2 separate regions of the Homo sapiens genome follow, and region 1 is linked to region 2. Evidence: promoter capture Hi-C in human tissues and cell types (Jung and others, 2019). All regions are on one chromosome and are shown on one strand. The core of a region is centred on a gene start or on the middle of the fragment in contact, and the rest is flanking DNA. Distances in the headings are between cores, read along the strand shown. Region 1 has its middle 44 kb from the start of ACTC1. Region 2 holds the start of ACTC1 (actin alpha cardiac muscle 1).

Region 1 (4,841 bases), core at 1,296-3,795, 44 kb before region 2:
ATTGTCTATGATGATATTACAAAAGTTGCTTTATGATATTGAGAGTACAGTAAGATCATAACCTGCTTTCCTCTCTATTAAATGGACATGATAAACTCTTTAGTCAGTGTTTTGCTGATAAAGCCATAAGTTGTTTCATGCAGTTCCTCTTTGGTTTAGTCACCATGATTATTAATTTATTTACATCATTATTATTTAAATATATTTAAGAATGATGTAATATTTAGTTACATCACTTTTATTTAAACATTTTTTAGTTCCTTGGGAATCCAAGGTGAGAGAAACCTTCATTTGCATGTATTCCTAATTTGTACCTAATTTGTGTATTTAATTTAGAACATAATAAGGATATATGCTCATGATCATGTTATTATTTATTGCAAGAAGAGTCAGTACTCCTCTCGCACCAGAAGAAAAACCAAACAGACACTATTTCAACTTAGCAGGATGTGGAGTTGTACCATTGCCTCTTGTCAGCCCTGCTTATATAATTCAGAAGAAGAGCACTTGCCACTGTTGAACAGACTTCTTCACAGAGGGCCTGGGTGTGCAGCACCCTGCCAAGTTTCCTATTAGTTATGGAGAAAAGCCATTTGTATTCTGAAATTGCAAATCAGCCAGGCAATCACCACACAGAAATAGCCCCCATGAAAATAAAGCAGTGCTATATTTGAAGGCTTAATCATGTGTATTTATAGACCTGAGTTTAGTTCTATTTGGAAAATTTCACATTATACAGTAACATTGTGATTACCAACATACTCAAAGGGTGAGGGGATGGGATGTTTGATCCACTTAAATTTTCTGAGTAATGAGGAGTTAGTCACAAAGAATTTTTTTGTCCACTCACTAGTGAATGCCTTTCAAAAATTGCTTTAGTCAGCTCAGAGGAGATCAGAAAGCCAGCTATGAGGTATTCTGGGTGGGAGAAGTAGGGAAGTGTGTTCTCGACAGATTCGTCATTGATACTTAAAAACCCACCATGAGAGATTCAGTCTTATAACTTAGGACCCTGTTCCAAATTAAAATGAAAATTACTTGGGTTGGCTAACATTGCCCATATTAGTGTTTTAGGACTTAGTATTAATAAGTGTATCAGGACATTTCCTGGGAGAAGATTTGAAAAGATAGAGGGTACTAGAAGGCCTTGGGTACCTGGGGTGAGACAGCAGCGTTGCCTGTTTCCCAAGTCTGCTCCGGGCCAGGCCTGTCAGCACACAGTCTGCCCTTCTTCGATGAACACGTGTCACTGATACTGATCAGCTGACCTACAACCAGCATTTTATTGGACCCCCTCAAACTCAGCACACTCAGAAGGACTCATCGTCTTCCTCACCCACCCCTCACATCTGCTTCGCAATGCTCACTGTCTCCTCAGCACCTAGTACTCACGCTTACGAGGAAAGGCACCAATGAATGAACACTTGCAGGAGGTGAGGGAGGGAGACATCTGGAGACCTAGAGTAAGAGTATTCCAGGCAGAGGGAATGGCACCTTGAGGGCCCTGACACAGGACCTGGCCCAGGGTGTTCAAGGTGAATGAAGGGAGCAGTGGCAAGAGAGGAGGCCAGACAGGAGCTCTGTAGAAAGCATTTTCTACTGTTCAAATAAGAAAGCTTCGAGTTGTCTTTGTCTTCTTTTTCTGCCTCTATCCCCTGACTCAGTCTTTCCTCAAGTGCTCTGAAACATTCCTCAAAATTGTGACCTCCTCTCCATTCCCACTGCTACCACAATCAATTCCTCCCAGTTGCCTTCCCTGACTATGGCTTTTCCCTCCCAAATCTGCCCTCCATTTTGCTGCTACAGTTGGCCTCTCCAATTACGTAGCTCATCATGTTATTCCCCTCTTCAGCATCCTTGACGGCTCCCCGTTATCTACGCTAGCACTTTCCAATCGGACTTTCTGCAAAGACGGAAATGTTCTGGAATCTGTGCTGTTCAGTGTCCACATGTGCATTTGAAATGTGGCTAGTGAGACTGAGAAATTGAATTTTAAATTTTATTTAATTTTAGATAATTTAAATGGTTGCACGTAGCTAGTGGCTACATATGATATTGAACAGCCCAGCACTGATATCATTTTTAATCTTTTGGAAAAGCCAGGTTTCCTTTCCTTTTGAGACTCTAATGAGAGCTTCATTTTCCCTTAAAACTTCAGCTACAATACTTTTGCGTGTATTCTAATGGTTTGTGAATCTATGGAGCCCCTCTCTGTATCTGCAGTTAGGAACCTCTGGCCTAGAAGGTAATGTCTAAGCCCATTTTGGGGGCTCAAGACAGCACTTGGAAAATGTCCTCTGTCTTAAGCTAGATTCTATGAGCTGATTGTTCTGAGTGACAGGAAGTAGACTATTTGGAGGAATTAATGATGATGGGGAAAGGAAGCCAGGGACCAGTCCCAACAGGGCAGTATTACATGTTGGGTGTCACAGCATCTGGAGTCAAGGAGAACAAGAAGAGATTGGAAAATGTAATGGGTCAAGGCAACATCGTATGCCCTACCAGCTGCAAAAGAAATGAGGAGGTTGTGCCGGTGCTGGGACACAATAGTCAACCCAGAGGGATCAGGCTGTAAGATGTTGGCCTCATTTCATGTGCTCTGTGCTCCTATCACGCTGTGTGCATCCCTCCCTGGTCCCCAAATCCAGGATGTTTCCGTATGGTTGTTCACATGGCTTCCTTTGCTAAAAAGCCCTTTCTTGCTGGCCTAGCAAACTCCTTCTACAAGGTCAAATTCATCCCCTCTGTGAAGATTTTCCCACCTCCCTTTCTTATGAAATCAGTCACTCCTCAGCTGTGCTCTCCCATGACTGCCTCTCTCAGCCTTCCAGCCACCCAGTGTGGATTAGTAGTTTTGGAGTTAGATGGATGTAACTCAAAAATAACTGAAGTAGCTTTGCCACTTGCTAACTGGGTGATCTTTGACCACATTGCTATAGTTCCCTCATCTGCATGATTGGGGTCATGATAGCATCTGTGAAGAGTTGTTATAAAGACTAAATATGTTGAGATATGGGAATTGACCAGTATAATGCAAGACATATAGTTGGACTCAATAAATAGTAGCTATCATTACCATTTTTATTACTGTTATCATCTGGCTGGTAGCATTACCCCGTGATAGTACAGTTAGTTGCTTGTGGATGTTCTTGTCTCCCACACAAGACTGGATTCAAGAGTAGATTTCCTGTTTGAAGCAGCTTAGAAACCACTTGATATGAACAAGAGGCATATGCCTTGGTTTGCTTGTCCAAAAAGTTTCAGATATTATTTATTTGGCCAAAAATTTTTAGGATGCCCTTGCCAGGCATTGCACCCTTCCATTTGGATAGAACCATAGTATAATAAATAGGGACCAGCCTTTCACCTGCTTTGTGTGGTTTGAAATGTTCTAAAAGATCTGGTCAAACATGTTCCTTCTCAGTCCTGGCATTGTCCAAATCCTCTGCTTTTGGCACACATTGGTTTAGCAGACCAGTGCTGGAGAACAGCGCGCTGAGGGAGGAAGACACAGAACAGGCATAGCCTGAGTGGGGAAAAGACCTGAGATGCCACTGTTGCTATTGCTGCCGATAATGATGCTGAAGGTAATCATGATGGTGATCATGATGGTGATGACGATGGTGAAGGTGAGGGTGAGGGTGGTGATAATGATGAGGATGGTGGTGGCGGTGAGGGTGATTGTGATGATGATGATGATGATGGTGATGGAGATGGTAATGATGGAGATGGTGATGATGGTGAGGGTGGTGATGATGACAGTGATGGTGTTGGTAGTTGTGATTATGATGGTGATTGTGGTAGTGATGATGATGGTGGTGGTGACAATAATGTAATGATGGTGATGGTGATGGTGATGATTATGGTGATGGTGGTGGTGGTGATGTTGATGATAGTGATAGTGATGATATTTACTGAGCACTTATGCATCAGATACTGTGATATGTGTTTTATACAAATGATTACATTTGATGCAAACCCCACGGTACTATAATATTTTCTGTTATACAAATGAGGAAATTGAAGCTTAAATTTCTTAAGGAAATTAAGAAACATGCCAAAGTTTTACATGGCTGGTAAGTGGTGGAAGCAGGATTTGAATTGGGATATTTGAGTACAGGGTCTATACTGTGACTGGCTCATGCATGGAAGTGCTGCCCAGAAGGGTGGACTCTGGGTTTAGTGGAACGGGAGAGGCTGGTATGTGCTACTAGGAAATAAGACAGAGGCTCTGGGGATGTGGAGAAGGACCTGCTGAAACAATTGGTTGCACAGAATTTATTTTTGTCTATTACTGAAATACATGTGATGGTGAGCTGGCTCACTCTGGCCTCTTAAATGAGTGAAAGTCCTCACTTGGCTTTTGGAAATGTTTTTCTGGTGGACAGTGTTACATTGACAGATCCTCAAATGTCACTGCTGGGCAAACAACATCTATCCTTTGGCACCACTGGCAGCATCAATGATGGACGAAATTTATTAATGTAGCATCCATGGTGCTCTTAAGACGTGGCTGCTTTTATTAGTAAAACATATAATGGGTCCACTTACATTTGTTATGAAGGAAAAATAAAAACAGTTTCTCCTTGATCCTTTTGTATTTATTATTTTTTCAGAAATGACTAGAGTCTTGGCTTCAAAAAAGGATGAATGACTGCTTGGTGCTGACTCACCACTCAGCTGTGACTGCCTCTGGCCAAGAGGGAGGCTCAGGCAGGCATCTGCACAGTAGCTGCCTACCGTTAAGGTGGTGCTTGCTGGACTGTGACTGCTCAAAAGCCTCTCCTGCTTCTGACTCATGGCCTGGACTCTTCCATGGGTTCCTGTCTGCTTCTTATCAA
Region 2 (5,290 bases), core at 147-2,646:
GGTGTGAACTGGAGGAAAAACACAAGCATTAAAAATCAAAGCTCCAGTCAAGAACTGAGAATGCAGGGCACCCCAGGGCAAACTAGTGATCTGTGTCCTTCTTACATCTCCCTCTTCCTTCTCCCTCTCCTCATTTCATGTCATTTTTCTTTTTCCTTCTCAAAAGTTCAAGATCCTGCAAAATCTGTTTTCCACAGAGGAGATGATATCTGTCATTTATGCCAATGCTTCTCACACTTTAATGTACATACCAAGCAAATGAGGATCTTGCTGAAAAGCGGATTGGGATGGCTCTTGAGATTGCATTTCTAGCTCATTTCCAGGTTATGACAATACTGCTTGTCCATGGGCTGCACTTTGAGTAGCAAGGATTGGTGTAGTCCTATAGTTTAAGTTGTTGCTATGTTCTCCATCAAAGTATTTGCCTTTGCAGTCTTGTCTCCACCTGGAGTGAGGGCCTCTGCCCCCAGTTTAAAGATGCTCATCTCCCCACCATCAAGTGGGCAAGCTACTTTTGGCATTTGTTCCTTTATTCACTTTGGCAGCAGGGGATCCTTTTCTGGCCTGAAGACCAGAGTCTGAATTTGAGCAAAACCCTGCAGCATGGATGAGGGCTACCCAATAACTGGGCTGGGGTAAACCTGGTCCCTTCTCCAGCAAGACTTGGCCAAGCTCTCACAGAAACCCTTTTCTGACTCTTCCCTGGCCAGACCCTGATCCATGCATGGGTTGGAACTCGGGTGGCCTTGGTTAATCTCAGCTTTCTGACCTAGATGAGCCCAGCACCAGCTCTCTGAGTAAAGCCATTCAGGCTGGCGGGGACTAGACCAGAAGGGTGCCCTGTCCTGGGTGCCCCTTTTGCAGCCACTCAGATGTGCTGCTGCGGTGTCCTTTGTGCTGGTGGCAGCCCTGGAAGATGAGAAGCCGCTGTTGCTCCCCTGCTGCCCTGGCCCAGCTGTCAGGACCCCTCAGCAGAGGGCAGGGCGCCAAGCCTTCCCACTGCATGTGGCTTATTGTCCCCAAGGCTGGCAGGGCTGCGGAGGACCGAATCCACAGACCATCCAGGGAGCACCCACACCCCAGAAAGGGGGAGGGGTGGGCTGGCGTCACTTAGTCTTCCCCTGCCCCCTACCCTTCAGCGCCTGCCCCTCCCCAGCTCCCTATTTGGCCATCCCCCTGACTGCCCCCTCCCCTTCCTTACATGGTCTGGGGGCTCCCTGGCTGATCCTCTCCCCTGCCCTTGGCTCCATGAATGGCCTCGGCAGTCCTAGCGGGTGCGAAGGGGACCAAATAAGGCAAGGTGGCAGACCGGGCCCCCCACCCCTGCCCCCGGCTGCTCCAACTGACCCTGTCCATCAGCGTTCTATAAAGCGGCCCTCCTGGAGCCAGCCACCCAGAGCCCGCTGCCGCCGGAGCCGAGCCGACCCGCCCCGCCGACGGTGAGTCAGCGCCCGGCCCTCCGCGTTCACTCCTCGCCTGGTCCGCGGGCCGCGCCGGACGCCAGCCCCGCGCCGCCACCTGGCCAGCCCGGCCCGCATTCAGCCAAGGCCCCAGCTCCTGCCGCTCTGCGACTGCCTTTTTTTTTTTTTTTTTAAAGCCCACACTTTTTGATTTGGTTCTAACTTGTTTTGTCCTGGGCGTTGGTCCTCGCAGGACCTCGCAGGGGCTCTAAGAAGGGGAATTTTGTGGCTCCCCAAGGGGCTTTTGGGTCCCTACTCTCGTGCGCTTTCCCCTCCATCTGGGGCACAGGCATGGCGATATGGACAGGGCTGGAGATCGAGTTCCCAGTTCGTGAAAAGGAAGAAAGTTAAAGGGCTGGGGAGGACTAAGGGGCTGGGTTTCTTGGGTCCCTCCTTGCACCTGGCACCCTAGCTGGAACTCCTGGCCAGGGAGCCTGGGTGGATTCCTCTGCCCTTCTCTGTCCCCAGTCTCCTCCGCGGCTTCTTCCCTCCCTTTTATGATTCGAGGGGAAGGGAGGTGGCAGGAGTGTTCCCCGCCCAACCCCCTGTCCAGTCCCCACAACCCCCTTCTGCTCTGTCCTGTCCTCTGGGTGCGGAGAAGGCCAGCTGCACAGGCAGCTAAGCGTGGTCCGCCCTCCCCTCCTCAACCTGCAGAACCCCCTGAAGCTGTGCCAAGATGTGTGACGACGAGGAGACCACCGCCCTGGTGTGCGACAACGGCTCTGGGCTGGTGAAGGCCGGCTTTGCGGGCGATGACGCGCCCCGCGCTGTCTTCCCGTCCATCGTGGGCCGCCCGCGGCACCAGGTAAACTTCCCGCCGAGCCCCCCGTCCCACTCGGGACCCCTTCAGTCCAGCGATCTAGGAAATGGCTCTCACCTGACCCTCTTGTTCGATGAACTCTTTAGGCCAAATTAAGAGAAGGCTGATTGACTTCAAATCCAAGCCAAGGCAAGCAATACTCCACAAAACCCCAACATACTGAGGAATGTACACCTGAGTGGCACGCCTCTAAAAGGGTCCCACTCCCTGGTGTGAAAGCCACCTGCTTCTCTCCACTAATGGCCTTTTGGACTTTTAGTCTTTAGTGTCTTCTCTGCCTTATACACTTCATTTTCTTCCTTGTCCTCTCTTTTCAGTCCTGTTTAAAACTTCTAACAATATCACCTCTCCCAACCAACCAGGACCAAATCCACATTCCTCTCTCATGTTCACAGCCAGTTTACAGGGTTCCCCAAAGGTGTAATCAATCTATCTCCTTCCTGGCTGTTGCATTTTTAGAAGCCAGGCGTGACAGAGGCAGCAAGTGCCATGGTGATAGTGACATACCACCTCGTTTGTTAAAAGACATGCCATGCTCTCTGGGTTTGTCACATGCCTGGCCAGACAGGCTGCCAAGCAGGAGAGCTTAGTCCTCAGAGCTGGTGAATGACTCCAGAACAGCTCTGGACAGGCTGAATTTCACTGTTGGAGTGAGGATGGCATATCAGCCCATCATTATGTGTTCACTTGAATGTCAAAATCTTTTTCTTAGGAGAAATACAATGTGTCATTAATTCAGTCATTCCAAAATGCAGTCATCTATATTCCAGTTGACATGGGTGATGAGCTTAATAACTTAATGAAGGCATATGATATTTTTAAGGTGAGGTGAGGCTCTGCTTCTTCAGTGGAATAGCTTCATTCTCTCCTGAGTTATATTCTCAACAATAGAATTATACATCTTTGGGGGAGTGGGGAGAAGGTAGAAGATTGATTTTTAAATAATTCTTCTAAATTGGGGTAAAATCGTATTGCTTGTTATTTCTGGTATTTAAATATGTTCCTTGACTTGGGCAGTTAGATATAAATGGACAAGACACTGATTATATTCCTGACATGGTGAGAGCATGATTTTCTCATTTTTTCTTCTCATAGGGAGTTATGGTGGGTATGGGTCAGAAGGACTCCTACGTAGGTGATGAAGCCCAGAGCAAGAGAGGCATCCTGACCCTGAAGTATCCCATCGAGCATGGTATCATCACCAACTGGGACGACATGGAGAAGATCTGGCACCACACCTTCTACAATGAGCTCCGTGTGGCTCCCGAGGAGCACCCCACCCTGCTCACAGAGGCCCCGCTGAACCCCAAGGCCAACCGGGAGAAGATGACTCAGATCATGTTTGAGACCTTCAATGTCCCTGCCATGTACGTGGCCATCCAGGCAGTGCTATCCCTGTATGCTTCTGGCCGTACCACAGGTATGCTGGGCTCTGGGGACAGTTACTGATGAATCACATTCCCAAGTCACCGACCTTGCTGTGAATCAGATCCCCCAGTTGAAAAAGGGATAATCCCTTTCCTCCCATTCCCTAGCAAGGTCTGTGCTAAGAGAAAGAGTTAACAGTAGTGCCCTGAGGTTAGTTTCGGAGCACAATTATTGTTGGAGCTGATAGCTTGTGGAGATAGGTCCTTCCCTCATTTAAAGCTCAGCGCAGTGTAGCAGCTTGGAGTGCAGCAGTCATTGTTATGTGTTTAAACCATCACATCACCTGGGCAAGCATCCCCAAGGAGAATACATTCCATACAGGGTCTGAGTCAAAAGAGAGAGAAACGTGTAAGTTCAATAGGAGCAAAGAAAAACACCCTTGGGTGCTTACATAATGTGCTCGTGGCTGACAAGAAAGATGGTCATTTGAAAGTGTCCTCGGGAATTTTTTCTACTATAATAGTTAAAAAGATGAGCTGCAGTTTGCTTCAGATTTAGTATTCCTGATGCGCATTTTTATTCTTTGTGTGTAAGGAATCTAATTTTATCTGGATCAATGCCCATTGCTAGCATCTCTTAGCCAAGATTGGAAGCGGGCTTTGCCGTGGCTAGAGCAGTGGTGTTGTCCTCAGGAATTTACCTTGTTCTTGTCTACTTCCCCGGGCAGGCATTGTTCTGGACTCTGGGGATGGTGTAACTCACAATGTCCCCATCTATGAGGGCTACGCTTTGCCCCATGCCATCATGCGTCTGGATCTGGCTGGTCGGGACCTCACTGACTACCTCATGAAGATCCTCACTGAGCGTGGCTACTCCTTTGTCACCACTGGTGAGTGTGTGTGTCTCATCTGCCACAGTGTGGGTCTGCTTTCCTCCTCTCTCACTGAATCCGCCTACCTCCCTATAATTGACTTCTTGCTTCAGAGCATGACTGTGATACTCTTTATTTCTGTAGCTGAACGTGAAATTGTCCGTGACATTAAAGAGAAGCTGTGCTATGTCGCCCTGGATTTTGAGAATGAGATGGCCACAGCTGCCTCTTCCTCCTCCCTGGAGAAGAGCTATGAACTGCCTGATGGCCAAGTCATCACTATTGGCAATGAGCGCTTCCGCTGTCCTGAGACACTCTTCCAGCCCTCCTTCATTGGTGAGTTGTAGGGTCTGGTGCAGAGGCACGATTTTCCCTGGAAATCTTAGGGTCTCCCAGAGTAAAATCTAGAAGGCTCAAGAAGCCCTTGAGTTAAAAGAAGTCATAGTTTGGATTCCCACACAGCTCAACCTCAAGTCCTGATGGCTCATTAAAGGGGAAGTCTATGTTCTGCTCTAGTGATATAATAAAGGATGACACACTGAGTTCATCTCAAAATAAAGGATGACACAGAGTAGTAACTGAATAGCACGTATCTGCAGGAAAAGGGCTAGTTCACAAGAGCTGACTTATTCCCGTAAGTTTCACTACCAAGTAGCTGGACTTTCCAAGTTCCTCATCATTAAATGCAATAACATTCCTACTCATATTAATAACTGGGCACTTATATGTCAACAAATATCCTTCCTAAGCAATGCTTTCCATAAGGAACTT

The links. The method cuts DNA at HindIII sites, captures the fragments that hold promoters and counts their contacts. A contact is called where the count stands out against the background at its distance.
Region 1: a fragment that was not itself captured here is called in contact with the fragment with the promoter of ACTC1 in region 2 in 2 of the 25 tissues and cell types used here (H1 embryonic stem cells and mesenchymal stem cells).

The regions. Positions count from the first base shown.
Region 1 is chr15:34,837,341-34,842,181 of GRCh38, reverse strand. No RefSeq gene overlaps it. Among named protein-coding and RNA genes, the nearest start is that of ACTC1, 44 kb to the right of the region's middle. The HindIII fragment of the contact is 5,086 bases long and covers 3-4,841 here.
Region 2 is chr15:34,791,655-34,796,944 of GRCh38, reverse strand. It overlaps ACTC1 (actin alpha cardiac muscle 1), which reads left to right and starts at 1,396. Exons shown (of 7, transcript NM_005159.5): 1 at 1,396-1,439; 2 at 2,115-2,265; 3 at 3,376-3,700; 4 at 4,376-4,537; 5 at 4,664-4,855. The coding sequence starts at 2,137. All of the region lies in intron 2 of GJD2-DT (GJD2 divergent transcript), which reads right to left. RefSeq lists an enhancer at 1-249. The HindIII fragment of the contact is 17,333 bases long and covers 1-5,290 here.